Regions from separate parts of the Homo sapiens genome. Here region 1 is linked to region 2. The links are contacts of gene promoters, found by promoter capture Hi-C in blood cells and fetal thymus (Javierre and others, 2016). All regions are on one chromosome and are shown on one strand. Each heading gives the region's core, a stretch centred on a gene start or on the middle of the fragment in contact. The rest is flanking DNA. Distances are from core to core; before and after follow the strand shown.

Region 1 (5,347 bases), core at 2,463-4,962, 380 kb after region 2:
CCGTCCCGGAGTAGATTCCCGGAGACGCCTCCCTATCCTACGCCTGCGGGCTGAGCGGGGACGATGCTCAGACACACCCAATTCACCAGCGGATCGGAGGCCGCAGGAACCCATCCAAACCCCGCAGGGGCTGCGCCTCTGGGACCCAGGGCCAGACCCTGCTGGGCTGTCGGAAGTGGCATCGCCTATGGCCAAGACCGCGGGTTCTGCGTACAGAAAGGAGCCCTGGGTTCGCTTTCTGTCTCGTCCATTTTCCAGCTAGGTGACCTTGGGCAAGGTATTATACTTAAATTTCCATGTGCCTTAGTTGCCTCATCTTTAAGATGGACAGAAGGATCCCGTCCTTAGTGGGTTGACATGAGGATGGCATGGGGTCCGACAGCCGCGGTTGGAATTCTGGCACTGACATCAGCTAGCTGTGTGCCCTGGGGCAAGTTACTTAACCTCTCTGTGCCCGGGTTTCCTGCAAAATAGGGATGATAATGGTACTTACCTCCGAGGGTTGTTGCCTGCAAAGCGCTTAACACAGCACCTGGCACAGAGTAAGCGCTCAATAAATGGTGGCTACTATGGCTGTGGTCGTTATTATTGTTCCTAAAGGCGCTGAGCACACGAGTGGAGCTCTAGCTGGCAGCTATTATTAGTCTGTTTCTTAGGTCCAGCTATTTCTTTCCGGGCATTGTTCAAATCTTTTACCAAGAGCTCGCGTCCTTATCAGTAACCGAAGGACAGCCGGCCTTCCAGAGTTTGGAATGAACGAGGTTCCCCCGGAGGAGGGCCAAGGACGCGGCCGCGGGCTGCCGGGACCGGGACCTCCCGGAGGAAGCCCGCGCCGCGCCGCCTCCGCCCGGGCCTCCAAGAGCGCGTCAGAGCCGCAGTGACGTCGCCGGGCCTGCACGTGCGGGGAGCCTGGAGGGGGCCGGGAGGGCAGGAGGTCGGGCCGCTGGCAAGAGGCGCCTCGGGCCGCGCTGGGACCCTGCCCTCCGAGGCGGCCAGAAAAGCTGCGGGAAGGCCCGGCCTGGGTCCGCTGTTCCGCGCCTGCTCGCGCGGGGTGCGCTCGGGGCGCCGCCTGCCTGCAGCCCCGCGGGGAGGCCGGAGATGCCGACGCCCGCTCCGGGCCCCGGGGCCCGCTCAACCTGGCCGGGGGAGCTGAATTCCCGGCAGCCATGCGGCGTCGGCGCGGTCCTTTGCGCCCAGTCCCACCCGCCCGGATCCCACTCGTCGCCGTCCCCCAGCGACTCCCTCCGTTTCTTCCCCCTCTGTCCTCCGTCCGGACCAGCTCGTTTGCTGTCAGCGGTGGAGAGCCACTCTCAAGAGGCACCTCCCACCTCCGGCTCCCCGCCTGCAGCCCGGGCGCGCCCATCCTATCGCCCTCCCGACAGCTCCACGCGGTTGGCCCCGCGCGCACCGCCACTCGCCGCGTGTTGACCCGATTATTGTCTATCGCAGAGATGGCGCGACCGCCCAGCCCCTCGTCCCGATGCCTCGCCTTCCCTCCTGAACACTTCTCCAGGCACTCTGCACTCCATCCTCATTCCCACTTCATCCAGACCTCCCCGGCGCCCCGCCCCCCTTGGCTGTTGACACATTCCCCTCAAAGGTCTCCCCTGCATGCCTGTCTTCTTCAAATCCATCCTCCTCGCTCTGCCAGAACAGCCACCTGCAACCCCTGTTTTGCCATGCCTCTCGGCTTGGGGCCGCCCGGTCTTCATGGATGCCCTAGTCTGCCATTTTCTACACCACGCCTCCCGAGCTAGGCTCGGAGGCTGGAGCCCGCTGGGGCCACACTCTTGAAGGTCCTCAGGTCTTTGCTGCAGTTAGGCCCTATCCAGAGAATTTTCCCCTTCCTCCCTTCTCCCCCTCCCCCTACCGGCTTCCTCTTACTCATCCTCCAGAACTCAAGATGTGAGTCACCTTTTCAAGAACGCCCTCCCTGTTCCGCTATCTGGCCGAGTGAAGTGTCCCTGGGCCGCCTGCTGATTTTGTCATATTTAGGGGAGAGGCTTGAGCCTTCAGGATGGCCTGTGGGGTCCTGCATGGTCTGTGCACACCCCCTTCGCCTCCCCTCCCCTCAACATCAGCTCCTTTCTTCCCCTGCTCTGGCCACACAGGGGGTCTCAGTCCCTGGCCCCTACCTCACCTTCCCAGTCCAGCCTCTTAGCGCAGGCTTCTCTGCCTGAAACACCTTGCCGCCCTTCCTCTTCTACTCAATTTTCAGCTGTCATCTTAAGTAAGACTCAATTCGTCTGAGAAGCCTTCCCTGACCCACCCACCCCCAACTCAGTGGAATTCGCCTTTAATAGGTCAAAGTGCAATTCAAAAAAATTTAAAGCATACCAAAAAACTATAGCGAATAATATAATTAATCACTATTCTGTGTGCCTTCCCCTCCCCTAGCCACGTCTTTGTCAAAGCTTAACATTTGCTCTATTTTCTTCAGATCTTTTTTAAAGGACATAAAACCTCACAGATCTAGTCTTCTGAACTCATTTCTGTCCCTCCCCTATGGTAATCACTTTCTGCCTTTGAGTTTTACCATTCCTATGCATACTTTTGTATTTTTGCTACATATATTTGTGCCTGTAAGCACTTTACAGAATTGTTTGGTATGTTTTTAAACTCTGAAGAAATACCATTATACTGGGTATATAATTGTGCAACTTGCTTTTTTCACCCAGCAGGATAATCTTGAAATGTGTTCACATGGATACACGTAGTTCTAGATTATGCAATTTTCACTTCCTATTTGGGTCCCATTATATGAGTTCACCATACTTTATTTACCAATGTCCTTCTGAAGGACATTCAACTTATTTTTAATTTTTTTTCTGTTAGAAACAATATTGTGATTAGTATTTTTTATACCCATCCCCTTGTGTGAAAGTAAGTCTTCCAGTAGCCACTTGGGTGCAGAATTGCTGGATTCAAGGCAGAGGAACTGGCAGCTTTACTCAGCATGACTAAAAGTTTTTTCAAAGTGGTTGTACCATTCACAGTCTGATAGCAATATATGGAAGTTCCCATGCTTGGCATCCTCAACAACATTTGGTATTGTCAGACTTCAAAATTTTTGCCAAGCTGATGGGTGTGAAATGGCCTTTCAGTGTTTTAATTTGCAATTCCCTGTTAACAGGTGAGACTGAGCACACTTTCATTTGTTTGTTGGCCATTTCCTCATTTTTAAGTTGCTCATTGGTTTATTTGACAGTGCTTCTGTTAGATTATCTCTTACTATGAGTAGGAGTTCTTTATATATTCTGAGTACTAATCCTCTGTCAGGCTGTGGCCCATCTGGTGTCTTTTATTGCACTCAATTGCAATTTTAAACATGTATAATTATTTGATGAATGTTTGACTTTCTTATTAGATGGTAAGCACCAAGAGAAGAGGAACTATCCACTGCAACTAGTGCAGTGTCTAACACATACCAGAAACTCAATAAATACTTCTGGACTGAATTGTATTGACATTATTATTATTATTATTATTATTATTATTATTATTATTATTATATGTTTGCCTCTTCAGCTGTCACCCTCAATGTCCCACAAGGCTATCAACTCCTTGAGAGTGATATTTTATTCATCTTTGTATCTCCAACACCTATTATAACACAACACATCTGGCACATTTTATATACCCAATACTTTTTAATTAATTTCCTTTGAACTTTCTCTTCTTTCCCTCACCTTTCTCCTCATCCCATCTTCTATCTCTGAACCCAGTTATATTACCTATACAATGAATGATAAAGACCTCCTAGGGTGTTGGTGAGAATCACCCGATACAGTGGATGCGTTAAGTAGAGCAGTGCTTGGCACATAGTTGGTGCTCAATAAGCAGTGACTTTCAGTATTCCTACAACAATCATTTTGGTGACTAAGGATACACTCTGCTTAATTTTAACAGACAAAATTCTTTCAGAGAGAGAATAAAAGTGAACCTTCTAAAGATCTGGTGACCATTTTTTTCCCCGTTACTGGCATTTGACCCACAATATAAGGCTCAGTCCCAACGTGATCTCTGAAAAGCATCAAATATCATTCTTCTCCTTTTCTTTTATAAATTCCAGAAATATCAAAGGCATATGAACCATACATAGAATTCAAACCTTTAAGTAGAAACACATAAAGGCCAATTCCAAGTCTTTGGCCAGAAGTTGGAGAGCAGAAAGGAGGTCTGTCGGGGATACTAGAGGTGGGATTTAGTGGCTGCAGCCGAAGACAAAAGCAGAATTCTTACCTCTGTTTCCGACATCTGTCATTGATTGTGTGACTTTTGACCTATTTATAAAATGAAAATAATAATTCTTGCTTTTTCTAGACATTGAAATTCACTAATGAGTCATTTGAAAATGCTTTGTGACCCTCAACGTGAAAGGCAGTTTGAGTATATTTAAACATAGCTCCTCCAAGGTAGATGGGCCAGCAACATCTGTCCCTACCACGCAGGAACATGATCTCTATTCTGCCAGACAGGGAGGCCCAGGAAGGTGGATTTTGTCCGCCCAGACTTGTAAGTTACCGACAAGCAGGGGAAAAACCCAAGAGGGAAGTCCTCGTTCTGTGCACGCACCCCCTTCACCTGCGGCCTGACATTTGCAGGAATGATAAATCTCAGGGCAGTCTTATTTGATCAAGATGTAATACTAGGCAGAGGCCTGTCATCTCTAGGGTTTCAGCTCCGCGGGAGGAAAGCAGGTGGCTGCACTGGGTCTGTTGCAACGTGAGCCCACCAGAGAGAACAATTAACGCAGTGACCGCTGGCAGCCGCCTCTCCCCAGAAGGGCCGAAAGGAGCTTTGCTGAGAGATGTAACAGGAGAAGGTGGGCTGAACCCAGAAAGCCCCTCTGGAGGCTGACCTTCTCCTCAACTCAGAGACCTACAAAAGGGCCAGGAAAAGCAGTAGAGATGGCTGTTTGACAACTCCATGTCGTAGCGTCCTAGGGTTAAGCTGACCCCTACTGCTGTGGGAACCAGCAACAACACTGGAGCTGGAAGACCAAGCTTTGAAATCCAACTGTGAAACTTACTAGCTGTGCAATTTGGTCACTAACCCTCTGTGACTCAGTGCCTCAACCGTGGGTATCATAAGAACACTGACCCATCAAGTTTGCTAAGGAAGATTAAATGAGAAAAGGTAGGTGATAGTGTGCCACACAGGGAAGGGGCTCCATCATTACTTATTAAACTGATTCAAACACTAAAAACTCATTTAAGACTGAGCACAACTCCCTCCCTTAAACATTTTTTTGTCTTTTTTTTTTAAATTCTTAAAGCAATGCTTGAACATGATAAAACAAAAACAGAAACAAAAGCCACAACAGCACGAAGTGGGACACAGTGAA
Region 2 (5,155 bases), core at 1,820-4,319:
GTATTTTTGGTAGAGACAGGGTTTCTCCATGTTGCCCAAGCTAGTCTCAAACTCCCGAACTCAGGTGATCCGCCTGCCTCAGCCTCCCAAGGTGCTGGGATTTCAGGTGTGAGCAACCGCGCCCAGCCCAATTGAGTTGTTTTTCTAAGCAGTGGTAATTCACATTCTCATCCCTTCTCTTATGACCAAGGGCATACAAAAAAATACCAGGATAAGAGAGATTGCCAGGCCTGGCGCGGTGGCTCACGCCTGTAATCCCAGCACTTTGGGAGGCCAGGGCGGGTGGATCACCTGAGGTCAGGAGTTGGAGACCAGCCTGGCCAACTCGGTGAAACCTCATCTCCACTAAAAATACAAAAACTTAGCCAGGCGTGGTGGCGGGCGCCTGTAATCCCAGCTACTTGGGAGGCTGAGGCAGGAGAATTGCTTGAACTCAGGAGGGGGAGGTTGTTGCAGTGTGCCGAGATCATGCCACTGTCCTCCAGCCTGGGCAACAAGAGTGAAACTCCATTGCAAAAAACAACAACAAAAAACACAGACAAATTGCCTATGTAACCTATATTGGTCCTCAGAGGAATTTTTTTTTTTTTTTTTTGAGACAGAGGGGCGCTGTCTCCCGGGCTGGAGTGCAATGGCGTGATCTAGGCTCACTGCAACCTCCACCTCCTGGGTTCAAGCGATTCTCCTGCCTCAGCCACCCGAGTAGGTGGGATTACAGGCGCCCAACACTACGTCCAGCTAACTTTTTGTATTTTTAGTAGAGACGGGGTTTCACCTTGTTGGCCAGGCTGGTCTTGAACTCCTGACCTCATGATTCGCCTGCCTCGGCCCCCCAAAGTGCTGGGATTACAGGTGTAAGCCACCCTGCCCGGCCCCTTCAGAGGATTTTTAATAAACTGGCCCACATTTACTCTTCAGTTAAAAGCAAGAAATCGGCCAGGAGTGGTGGCTCATGTCTGTAATCCCAGCACTTTGGGAGGCCAAGGCGGGTGGATAACCTGAGGTCGGGAGTTCAAGAACAAACAGCCTAACTAACATGGAGAAACCCCATCTTTACTAAAAATACAAAATTAGCTGGGCGTGCTGGCACATGTCTGTAATCCCAGCTACTCAGGAGGCTGAGGCAGGAGAATCGCTTGAACCCGGGAGGCAGAGGTTGCAGTGGGCCGAGTTCCCGCCACCGCACTCTAGCCTGGGCAACCAGAGTGAAACTCCGTCTCAAAAAAAAAAAAAAAAAAAAAAAAAAAAAGCAAGAAATCTACCTTCCAAGGACATTAAAAAAAAATCAGCTAATTATTTAAAATAACCTTTAAATCCCTTTAGGGACTTAAAATCCTTTTAAATATTTAAAACCCAAACTTTAGAAAGGTTTGATTCCCTCTGGGCAGCCTCCTTTGCATTCCTCCTGGCTACAGTACCTCTATTCTCTCGCAGAATATTTTCAGTTTTTATTGGTTTCCACAATTTGATAGGAAGCAATGACCAGCAACTCTATGCACTCTCCTCCACTAAGCACATGCAGGAAAAATGACGGTTTATGTAAATTCATCTTACTTAGCTCCACACCCCATGTTGGAAGTTACTTTCGAATATTCCACACCTAAAGTTCAAGTAAACTTCCTTCGAGATTAAGCTCCTGGGCCGGACTCTGTGGCTTATGCATGTAACTCCAACACTTTAGAAGGCTGAGGTGGGAGGATTCCCTGAGCCCAGGAGTTTGAGATTAAAGTTAGCTATGAAGGCGCCACTGTACTCCAGCTTGGGTAACACAGCAATACCTTATCTCTAATAATAATAATAAAAATTTTAAAATCTAAAAAACTAAAAGACTTCTCCTGAGCTGATAAATGGAGAGTTGAAAACAACAAAAAAAAAACCTCATAATTGAGCTGGAGCCACTACATGCACACATGAAAAGGACTAACAGTCATAAAACAACACACAAAATCTGGAAGCTAATTTAGTGTAAAGGAAGAGCTTGTTGTTTCTTATTATAATACATCTCCCACTAAAGGTGTCCAATAAATTCTATCACCTTAGGAGATGAGTTTTAAACTAAGTGTAATGAGAAAATAGGTAATTTTTTAAAATCTCTTTTTTCTTTTTGGCTGCGGGGTGGCCAGAGAACGAAGAAATACCAAAAGTGAAATGCTACGCTGAATTGACCAGGCTAACTGGGAACTCACTGGAAAAGTGAAAACTGGGAAGAATTAGTGATGAGCTCAAGAAGGTGCTTAGCCACTTACCCAGAGATTTATTTAATGAGAATGGATCACAGGTTTCCACAGGTCGTTCCACTGCCAGTAAGAAGACAGTCGTGAACCATGGGTCCCTTTTTTCACTAGTCAACAGTCACCCTCACCTACACGCGGAGTACATATTTGGCACTCAGCAAATCTTGATTGAATGAAAACCTACCTCACTCATATTGGCACCCAACCCCGGAGTTATGGCCCCCCAAATTACCTCCAAAACGCCTGACGACCTAACCCAAGGAGCTGAAAAAGTGGAGAGGAAAGCTCTGGGGTGGAGGGGATTCTCTGCCAAACAAGCAGGGGCCAACGGGGCCTAGACCAACTCAACTTCCCACAGAAAACTCAGGGGCCCAGGGGATTGAACCGTGGCTAATCCCTTCTACTTCCACGAAGCAGCAGCCAAGGGGCCGCAGATCCACAGCCTCCCACCCGGGGGCGCTGAGAGATCTTGGGGTATCCCCCGCAAAAGTTAGTACCTGCGAAGCTGCGGCACAAAGAGTGGTTCCGGGCTCTCATTACGGAGGCCGGGACCTGGGACCGACCAGCCGCGCCTCCTGGCTGAGGGTTCCGCGCTCCGGAGCTGCAGTGACCGTACACGTCGCCGATAGACACCTAAGGCTTCAGAAGGGTCCTGGCTCGCAGGCCCCAGACGTTTTGCTCCTAAGACTCCGCGAGTTGTCGCACCCACGTCGACTGGCGCTCTTCAGTGCTTCCCTCACTGGTTAAGCGGTCACTCCCGCCTTAAGCCCAGCAGCCGGTCGCTTCCCGGCGCCGCCATCGTTAGTGTTTGTTTTCATCCGCTTCGGTAATGGCCGGGGGGGGGGGGTGAAAGAGGGCTACGGGGGAAATCCAGATGCCTAACCTTAGTCGCACTTTCGCTACAGTACGGACGCCCTATTTATTCTTTTAGTCCTCAAAATATCCATAAAAGTTGATTTTCATTCCACGTAAGCTTTCTTCTCCAATCTTTCTAAGCTACTCAAGATAAAACAAAGACGGAAAGGCGGTGTTTGAGAGAGAGAGAGAGAGACCGTTTGGGCCGCGTGTGGAATGTGCGGAGATGAACCGCAGGTAGCCGCGGCAGCGGCAGTGAGGGCGCGGCGCGGGGCGGGCGCTGACGCGGAAGGGGCGGTGCCGCTGTTGCGCGCCGTGGCGGCCTCTGTGCAGTCGCCGGTTCCGGAGGAGGGCCCAACCCGGCTGGGTGGGTGGGAAGTGTGGCTGGTAACCTGGCAGCCGCGGAGAGGTGGGTGACGGGCCTGGGCTAACTGAGTGGCCGGCGCAATCAGACTTTGACATCCGTTTTTAGGGTGCCCTTTAAAAGTGGCAGAGTCGCTTCCCAAACCTGGTTCGGCCAGCCTCTTTTTCGCTCCCGACTTCCAATGTGTCTGGTCTTCCGTACTTCCTGGCCCTCAGGTTCACGATTTGGAGTTCTTGGAGTGAGGGAAAAGCCTTTTGTTACAGCACACAGTGTACGTCCATAAGGCTGGGTTGTGGACTTTGGTTGTTTTTTTTTTTTTTTTTTTTTTTTTTTTTTTGCCCCTTCTTTTCTTGTTAGACTGGTTTGAACACCCCAGCATCTGTCCTGTATTTGTCAGGTGAAACCAGAAGTCTTTGGATAATGAAACCCGTGACCAATTCTTACCCAAGGTGGTTATGACATATGTCAGCTGCTTCTTGGCCTATATAGTTAGAAGCCGACCTCTTTTACCTTGTGAATAATTATGTCATCACCTCCATTATTCTTTTGGTGTTCTCAATTGAAATGCCAAGCATTAAATGAGCCACAAAGATTGAATTCCCATTATCCTTGAATCAGAGCAAGCCTGTCGTGCAGCCATGAGTTAGTGGAGAAAAATCCGGAGTTGTAAGTACAGTACGTTTTGCCTCAACAAAATGGAAATTTGTAGAAAAGGAGCTGCTCCAGCCTTTGAGTCACTTTAAAGTCTTTGGTAGGTTCCTAATGTTTTTTCTTTTAACATTTACAGAGAGAAGATTATAAATGGCAGAGCCATTTAACTGTGGTTAGCTGTTGGATTCTGATACTTTCTTAAAAATACGTTCTTGCACCAACATCTTCATTGGGAACAGTTCAGAAAAAGCAAAGAGGAGAGCCAACATTCACATTTACCATGGCTATACCAATAACAGTGCTTGACTGTGACCTCTTGCTATATGGCCGTGGTCACCGGACATTGGACCGTTTTAAGCTGGATGATGTGACTGATGAATACTTGATGTCCATGTATGGGTTTCCACGGCAGTTCATTTATTACTTGGTGGAGCTCTTGGGGGCGAATCTTTCTAGGCCTACTCAGCGATCCAGGGCTATTAGCCCAGAGACACAGGTCCTTGCAGCATTGGGTTTTTATACCTCAGGTTCCTTCCAGACTCGGATGGGAGATGCCATTGGAATCAGTCAGGCGTCTATGAGTCGTTGTGTTGCCAATGTCACTGAAGCACTTGTGGAAAGGGCCTCACAGTTCATTCGCTTTCCAGCTGATGAAGCCTCCATTCAGGCTCTGAAGGATGAATTCTATGGGTTGGCAGGGATGCCAGGGGTGATGGGGGTGGTTGACTGTATCCATGTGGCCATCAAGGCACCAAATGCTGAAGACCTCTCCTATGTGAACCGAAAAGGCCTGCATTCTTTAAACTGCCTGATGGTGTGTGACATTAGAGGGACACTAATGACCGTGGAGACAAACTGGCCCGGCAGCCTACAGGACTGTGCTGTGCTGCAGCAGTCTTCCCTCAGTAGTCAGTTTGAAGCGGGTATGCACAAAGATAGCTGGCTTCTGGGTAAGTTTGCAAGTGTGAATTTTCATTTTGTTTGGAGGCATAGAAAAGTTATGTAGGCTGGGGGCGGTGGCTCACACAACCCCAGCACTTTGGGAGGCTGA

Evidence for each region. The method cuts DNA at HindIII sites, captures the fragments that hold promoters and counts their contacts. A CHiCAGO score of 5 or more calls a contact.
Region 1: a contact is called between a fragment that was not itself captured here and the fragment with the promoter of ATG13 in region 2, in 1 of 17 cell types (naive CD4 T cells). The highest score is 5.6, in naive CD4 T cells.

What each region holds. Positions count from the first base shown.
Region 1 is chr11:46,233,855-46,239,201 of GRCh38, reverse strand. LOC124902669 (translation initiation factor IF-2-like) reads right to left here and starts at 1,813. Exons shown (of 1, transcript XM_047427965.1): 1 at 1-1,813. The coding sequence starts at 1,363. The coding sequence ends at 653. RefSeq lists silencers at 1-7, 834-1,153, 1,264-1,313 and an enhancer at 1,899-1,948. The HindIII fragment of the contact is 2,592 bases long and covers 2,417-5,008 here.
Region 2 is chr11:46,615,467-46,620,621 of GRCh38, reverse strand. ATG13 (autophagy related 13) reads right to left here and starts at 3,069. Exons shown (of 19, transcript NM_001346311.2): 1 at 2,732-3,069. It overlaps HARBI1 (harbinger transposase derived 1), which reads left to right and starts at 3,395. Exons shown (of 3, transcript NM_173811.4): 1 at 3,395-3,498; 2 at 4,241-5,054. The coding sequence starts at 4,385. RefSeq lists a silencer at 2,809-3,103 and an enhancer at 3,083-3,262. The HindIII fragment of the contact is 4,045 bases long and covers 1-3,209 here.